Regions from separate parts of the Homo sapiens genome. Here region 1 is linked to region 2. The links are contacts of gene promoters, found by promoter capture Hi-C in blood cells and fetal thymus (Javierre and others, 2016). All regions are on one chromosome and are shown on one strand. The core of a region is centred on a gene start or on the middle of the fragment in contact, and the rest is flanking DNA. Distances in the headings are between cores, read along the strand shown.

Evidence for each region. The method cuts DNA at HindIII sites, captures the fragments that hold promoters and counts their contacts. A CHiCAGO score of 5 or more calls a contact.
Region 1: a fragment that was not itself captured here is called in contact with the fragment with the promoter of MBD1 in region 2 in 1 of 17 cell types (naive CD8 T cells); the score reaches 5.3 in naive CD8 T cells.

Annotation. Positions count from the first base shown.
Region 1 is chr18:56,634,809-56,638,665 of GRCh38, forward strand. TXNL1 (thioredoxin like 1) reads right to left here and starts at 3,784. Exons shown (of 8, transcript NM_004786.3): 1 at 3,535-3,784. The coding sequence starts at 3,632. RefSeq lists enhancers at 2,836-3,821, 3,603-3,662, 3,822-3,857 and a silencer at 3,813-3,857. The HindIII fragment of the contact is 1,142 bases long and covers 1,997-3,138 here.
Region 2 is chr18:50,279,446-50,283,441 of GRCh38, forward strand. MBD1 (methyl-CpG binding domain protein 1) reads right to left here and starts at 2,078. Exons shown (of 17, transcript NM_015846.4): 1 at 1,918-2,078; 2 at 438-572. The coding sequence starts at 547. CXXC1 (CXXC finger protein 1) reads right to left here. Exons shown (of 15, transcript NM_014593.4): 13 at 3,820-3,916; 14 at 3,409-3,561; 15 at 2,902-3,294. The coding sequence ends at 3,148. RefSeq lists silencers at 1,811-1,890, 1,901-2,010 and enhancers at 2,156-2,736, 2,737-3,317. The HindIII fragment of the contact is 20,722 bases long and covers 1-3,996 here.

The DNA of each region.
Region 1 (3,857 bases), core at 1,318-3,817, 6.4 Mb after region 2:
TGGACTTCATCAAAATTTAAAACTCATGCATCAAAGGACACCATCAAGAAAAAGACAACCCAAAGAATGGGACAAAGTATTTGCAAATTAAATATTAACATCCGGCATATATAAAGAACTCCTGCAACTCAACCCAAAAACAAACCACTCAATTCAAAAATGGGCACAGAAGGCCCAGCGCAGTGACTCACACCTGTAACCCCAGCAATTTGGGATGCTGACGTGGGAGGGTCGCTTGAAGCCAGGATTTAGACCAGCCTGGGCAACAAAGTGAGACTTAGTCTCTAAAACAAAAAATAAATTAGCGGGCATGGTGGTATGTGTCTGTAGTCCCATTTACTTGAGAGGCTGATGTGGGAGGATTGCTTGAGGCCAGGAATTCAATGCTGCAGTGAGCCATCGTCTCAAAACTGCACTCCAGCCTGGGCAACAGAGCAAGACCCTGTCTCTAACAAATAAGAAAAAAGAAAAGCAAGCAAGTAAGCAGGGATCCCCGCATAGCAATGTCCCCTAGCAGCATTATCCACAACAGCCAAAGGAAGACACAACTGGAATGTCCATCAAAAAATGAACAGGTATACAAAATTTGCCATATAAATAAATGGATTATGTTATGCAGTTATAAAGAAGAATGAAATTCTGAGACATACTAAGACATGGATGAACCTTGAAAATACTATGCTAAGTGAAGTCAAAAACAAAAGGACAAATATTGTTACGATTTCACTTATATTAGGTGCCACAAATTGACAAATTCATAGAGACAGAAAGCAGAATAGAAGTTACCAAGGAGGTAGATGGGGAGGGGCAAATTACTGCTTAATGGGTACAGTTTTGTCCCTTTGGAGAAGTAAGGATGGGGAGTTATCCTTTAATGGATATAGAATTTCTGTCTAAAGTTATAGGAAACAGTGGTGATGGTGGCACAACATTGTGACTGTATAGTCATGTCTGGGTATCTGGGGGATTAGTTTCAGGACCTCCAGCAAGACACTAAATCACAGATGCTCAAGGGCCTAATAGAAAATGACATGGTATCTGCACATAACCTACGACCATTCTCCCATATACTTTAAATCATCTCTAGATTACTTATAATGCCTAAGGTAAATGCTATGTAAATAGTTGTTATACTGTATTGTTTAGAAAATAATGACAAGAAAAAAGTGTGTACATGATCAGCACAAATGCAATTTTTTTTCTCCAAATATTTTCTATCCACATTTGGTTCAATCCATGGATACAGAGGGCTGACTGTCCTTAATGCCAATGAATTATACTCTTACAAATGGCTAAATGGTCAATTTTATGTTATATATATTTTATCATAAGCCACTAAAGATTCTTACACAGGAGAACAATCTATGTATCATTTTAGTAAAATTTAGACTGAGAGTGCATAAAGCATAGAGGTTAAAAAAAAAGAAAAAAGGTTTAAAATAGGGTTGGAAAGGAAATGAAATAGGTGCTGGAGAAACTATGCCCTCAGTCTAAACTGGGACAGCATTAACTTTGATCTAAGAGGATTCTTACAAGATTTTACTGAATACAGTTGTTTCTGAGTCTAATACTGACCCGTCATATACATAATTCTGGGGTTCTATTGACAATGAGTTTAGACAGGATGTATTAATGGCCAATAAGTTCGAGGAATATTAAAGGTAAATACAATAATCTTACCAGATTTGTAAACGTAATATAAATATGCTTTTGAACTTACTCTAAATCCAAACATTAATTTTCCCTCGGTTTTTACAAAGAAAAAAAATTTTAATTCCACTAAAATACCTTTTTAAATGTAACAGTTCCTTACCAATCAATGTCTGCAGTTATGCTTATGCTTAAGTGACACCACACTGATAGAAAAAACCTTCCTTCGCAGCAATGTTTCCCCAGTTTTCTCACTTCAATCAATATTTATTTATTATTTTATTATCTCTCCCACTGCTATGGTAAGGGAGAAAAACAATATATCATTGAGGGACAAAAATATAAAAGCTTCGACGGGCCAGAATTAGAATAAGTGAACTAAAAGTGAGGTGAGGTTCCTTATTGAAATCCTATCTTCCCTTTTCTACTGTGGCCTAGATACTTAATGTACTACAGGTATTCCCCTATTATTAAGAATACAGACATCACAAAATTGCTAAAAATGAGAAGACACATTTATAGAATTCTAACATTCCTTTTAGGTGTTTTATATATATGACATCACTTATCCTTTTAAATTTAGTAAATGCAAAATTCCGTATATCATATGGGTACTCTAGCCCACCATATGAAATGCAAGGTACTATCCTTTTTCAATTCAGTGTAAGAGAGACTGGTCCAAAAATAAGTCTTAACTTGTTTTCATATCTATCTGCATCCATTCCCTAAAACGATATAATCCTAATGCCACCATTTATATACTCAACATTTAGTGAACCATCTAGTAGAAACTTTGTTTTTTGCTCTGAAATTCAAAATGGAATTTTGTGTTTATACAGTTATTTGGACAAGAAAGTGTGTTACATAAACAGTGATACCAGCAGTAGACTGCTCCAAGTTAGATGTATAAATAACGCCAAGGGGTCAAGGAAAATAAAGCGGAAACCTCTCATACTTCTAACTAAATACTATCGACATACACAAGGAGAGATCTGTGAAACACACACACACGCTGAAATCTTGGTTCTCAACGCCGAGTTCCAACATGTCATTCTTACAAAGGAACTTTACTACACATCCACTATAAAAGGTCCACCTTTTCTACGACCTATAATTTTGTTGATATTTACCAAAGACAGTTAACATTTTTCAAGATCCCTGTCCTCTTAAGTGAAAAAACAGAGCCGGGTCAAACTAAGACATCCGGCCAACTGTCCACCTGAAATATATTATATATGTACTGTCGTGTGTGACCAGTTGCAATCGCATACATAGGGGAGCCTAAGCTACAAGTTAGTGGCCGAACGAGGAAGAAAAAAGTTCAAATAATTTAAAAAGCACCCTAACCCAACGTTAACTTAGTTCGAAATGCATTAGCAGAAATTCAGGACTCAGAGCTACGCATATTAGTTAGATCGCCCCATCTGAATCTTCAAAGGCTTTAGAGAGATGTAGGTGGTGAAGAGAAACAAAGTGTTCGGTAAATTAAGCTTTTGGAGCTCTGGAGATGCAAATGACAGCTGGCTCTGCAGAAAGAAGGGGTCAGGCTCAGGCAAGGGTGGCTGCGGAGACTCCCACAGGCTGGAAGGAATAGGGGCGGGCCACCCCCAAAACCAGTTTGTCAAAGAATTGAAAAGGAGCAGGTGAGAAATCTCCTGAGCTGGAGAAGCCGGCCAGCCAGGCCCCCGAGCCCGTCTAGGAACCCCTGTGCATAAATGGGGGTTCACACCCGAGAAACGAGGCCTAATTCCGGCAGCTCCTGGGGCTGCGGCGACTGCCGGACACTCCGGGGCAGCAGACGGCTAGGAAACCAGGGCCAACAAAGAGTGAAAGGAAAGCAAGGAAGGACAGACGGGGACCCACAGAGCTCGAGCCTGGCCTCACCCTCTCATGGTGAACTTGACCACGGCGAGTCTGGAGCCCGCGCCGCTCAGCTCTGGCTGGAAATCCGGGTCGCTCCCGACGGGCTTCACCCCCACCATCCTCACAGAGAGCCCGGCAGGGTGGCCGCGACGCCACTGGCTTTGAAACTGAAGGAGAAGACGATCTGGGAGAGGAAGGAGAGATGCTCAGGAAGGCCGAGGCCTGGACAGAAGAGGTGGCGACCGCCGAGTCTTCTCCCGGGACTCTCAGTGCCGAGTCACGCCAGGGAGCGGAGCGGCCGAGGGGGCGGGGAGGGATGGGGGAGGGGAGAGGAGGAGGATGGG
Region 2 (3,996 bases), core at 828-3,327:
AGCACGACATAGTCTTCTCACAGAACACTAAACAGCACCTCAGCACTATGCTTGGGGACCATTTTAAAAAGCAAAATCACCAAAAAGTACAAAAATTAGAAAAATGTGACACTAAACAGACCACGAAAAGGACACCTGTTTACAGTATTAAAGCTGAAAAGGGCTCCTTCAGCCTCAGCTAGAAATACATGCATTGAGTGACAGTTTTTCACTGCTCTGTACGTATTCTTGAATAATCACAAATGCACTGTGAGTAGTGACTTTTAAGTTACAAATAAATTTTATTAAGTAGGTGAAATTCAAACATAAAATCCGCTAATAAGGATTAACTGTATGTGCATAATTTAAACTTCATCCATAAATTTAACCACACCATTTGATTTTACCAGAATCAGGCTCTACCCCACTCCTGACTCTGCCCACTACCCACCCAGTACCTCTGGTAATAGGTGTCTGAGCGTCCACAGGTGGCCCCTGACTTGCGAAAGACTTCGCGGCGCTTCCAGCCAGGGCCCAGGGCCGGGCAGTCCAGCCAGTCCTCAGCCATGGAGGCCACAGGAAGCAGCAGTAGCCTGAAAGGGGGTGGAAGGGATGAGGGAAACTGAGGCTCTAGGAAGGGACAACACTGTGCCCCAGGCCACACAAATCACTGGTATCCATTAGTGCTTGCCCAAGCCCTAGGACCTGCCACAGGCAACCAGCCCATATATGGAAAAGAAACCCCTCATATTCTCACCCCATTCTTTCCTATTCTGGGCCTAGGATATCATCATTCCTCAACCCAAGGATCCCTGTTTCTTATTCTCAGTGTCCTAATCCCCTACTCCTCTCTATCCTCAGACTGACAACCCATCATTTCTCCTCACTGCCAATCCAGAAACTTTTCATCCTTCCCCCTCATTCCTCCCTGTCACTGACCTAAGGGCCTCTATCCCTCTATTTTATCACCCCAAGACCCCCATAGTCCCCATCCTCAGCCCCAAAGGGCCCCATTTCTCTTGCCCTCACTACTTGACTTCAGTAGTCTCTCATTCCCCCCTTCCTTGACCCAGGAGTTCCTAATTTCCCTCCTTCAGTGTTTTAACCACTCCATTCCTTCTCTGCCTGATGTCCTCTTATCCTGCTACCTCAGTGTTACAACCTCGACTTCCTCTGCGAGACACAACTGCTCCAACCCATAGCCTGAACAGCCCCTCATCTTTTCCATTCCTCACACTGGAAGCCTCCCATGCCTCCCCTTCCTCAGCCCAAGACCTCCCCCCTTATTTTTCTTCTCCTTCAATGTTCTCACCCACAATTTCTCCCTAGTCTGAGCTCCCAAACCTTCCTCTACAGCCAAAAAGTTCCCCACTTCTCCTCCTTACTGTTCTCATCCTCCATTCCTCCCTTATCATCCAGAGAGACCCTAATTTCTCCCCTCAGCATTCCGAACCCTCCTCCATTCTCTCTGTTCTTGTCCCGGGATCATGCCATCCCTAACTGTCACCATTCTGATCCCCTACTGCTCCTCGTCCTCTATATGGGGCCTCCTATTCCTCCCTTTCAGCATTCCAAAGCCTCTATTTCTCCTGTCATCAGCCTGAGGGCCCCTCATTTCTCCCTCTCAGAGTTCTGAACCCCCATTTCTCTCTCAACTTCAGATGCCCCGATGTCTCCCTTTAGCGTTCTGATCTCCACCATTCCTCTCCGTCCTCGTCCCAGGATCCCGACACTCCTACCTGTCAGAGTTCAGAGCTGCATTCCTTCCCGTCCTCAGCCTAAATCCCCCCATTTCTCCTCGTCAGTATTCCGACGCCGCCATTCCTCCCCCTTATCGGCCTGAGGGCCCTTCATTCCTCCCCGTCAGCGTTCTGAGCCACAATTCCTTCCCATCCTCCGCCTGAGCGCTCTCCACGTCCAGCCCCAAGGCTGTCTCACCAGTTTGGCACCAGGCCGGTATCTTCCGCCACTCTAGGCCCGTGGACCCATGGCGAGGGTCCCTCCTGCACCTCCCGCCTCGCCCTCCTCCCCTTCCTCCTCCTCCGCGGCCGCCTCCTCTGAAGCGGTAGCTGTCGCCTCCGCGGCTGTTCGTTGCTCCCGGAACCGGAAGTCCGCTGCCTGCCTCTCGGGCTCCGCCTCTGGCTAAGCACCTGCGCACTATTGCCTCGATGTCGCGTGCCCTTAATAGGGAGGCTCCCGCGCCTACGGGCCGGCGCTCCGCAGCGGTGCGCGCGCCCCCCTGCCGAGAGCCAGTTGCATCTGCGTGCTGACGTTCAACGACAGCTAACCCCTTCGAGGGACTGGCAGTTGCGGCTCTCCTCGCTGCCCATCTAGCTGGCGCATGCGCTTTCCAGCCTCAACCTGAAGGGAAGCGGTCGGGGAGGGCTTGCGCCTGCGCCCTCCCTTCCCTCCCGCGGTCTCCACAGCCGATACCGAACGCGGCAAGGAAGCTGCTTCGCGCCTGCGCACTCCCTGGCCCTGCCGGCGCTCTCCTCTCCCACCTCTCGCTGGGGTCTATCCTGTGTTCGTGGGTCCCTCCGAACATCAACCCCAGGGGGGGTCGTGTCCCGCTCCCTCCTCCCCGCCGAACAGCTGTGGGAGCGCGCGGGGCGGGGAAAGGGGCGGTGCCACACCGCAGGTAAACTGAGGCACGCGGGAGGGCGCGCCCCTGCAGGAGGCGGATCCCCAACGTGGGGCTTGTGGGGAAAAGGCGGGGCCTGGCGTCCACAGCGGACGACAGCTCTGGGTGGGAGACAGGAGCATGCATGGGCGGTGTCACCACACTGAAGGCGCGCTGCGTAGACCCTCTGCCCGTGGGAGGCTGGGAATGTGGGTCCCTGGGCTCTCGCGGGGTGCAGGCGCCCCCCATCTTATCCAGAAGTCTGGAACAGTTGCAACCGCAGCAATGTGGAGACAGCTTCCTTGGTTTCTTCAAAATTTTATTAACAAAACCCAGGGAGAGGAGGCAAGGATGAGTGGACTCCGCAGCCCCACCAGGCACTGAACATGTCGACGGGGACAGTCCCTCTGATAAAGGCAGATGGGCGGTCAACCGGTGGATGGGCACAGGGAGAACCGGAGAAACAGATGAGTGGAGGAACGGACACACGGGCACCGGGCGGCTCCCCCATCTGGAATGCAGGGTGTAAGGGGTCCGGGCCAGGAGGCTCAGCGGTCGGCACTGGAGCGCAGGTCGGTAGTGAGGGGATCGTGCTGGATCGTCTGGTGCAGCATCAGGGCCAGCAATCCCGCGCGGTTTGTCATGGCTGTGCGCACATTGCGCTCCTGCTCAAACAGCTCGTCCAGCTTGTACCACTGCCAAGGGAGCGGCAGGAGTCCTAAGCAGGAACACCTGCAGCCCCGCCTGCCCCGGCCACGTCCGACATGGAAACCTACCACATGCAGCACCAAAACCGCACAGAAACCTACCACACGCACGCGCTCCAAGTCCACTTCCGCACGCCGCAGCTTCTCCCAGCAGTAATGGCGATTGCACTGGCGCTTGGGCAGGCGGCAGAAGTCACCCGTGAGCTCAAAGACATCACGTACAAGGGGGCACCCGCATACCTCGTCAGCTGGCACCTGCAAGGAGGCCAGGTTGGGGGGATGAATAGCGGTGATAAGGGAGAATAGGAATGGGGGCTCAAGGAGGGAGAAGGAAAAGAATGGAGGGTTCAGGGAACGGTGAGGAGGCATGGAAAAGGAGGAATGGAGGGTGAAGCAGCAGGGAAGCTGAGAGGAAAAAGTGAAGGAAAAGTGAGGTGAGGAAGGAAGGGATGAATGTGGGACAGCGAGGCAGGGAGGAGGGGCAAAATGGGAGGAGCTGAGGGAAAACCTTACTTTGGGGTCCCGTGAGTGCTCGGGGCACAGCACCTGGAGCCGCTTACAGTATGTTTTGCTCTGAGGATTATACACATCACAGAAGAGTCGTGTGGCCCTGGGGATTTGGAGTAGAGAGGGCAGTAGAGGGAGGGAAGGGAGGTCCATCTGTCCTGGCTGGTTGCCCGTATCCTGCCC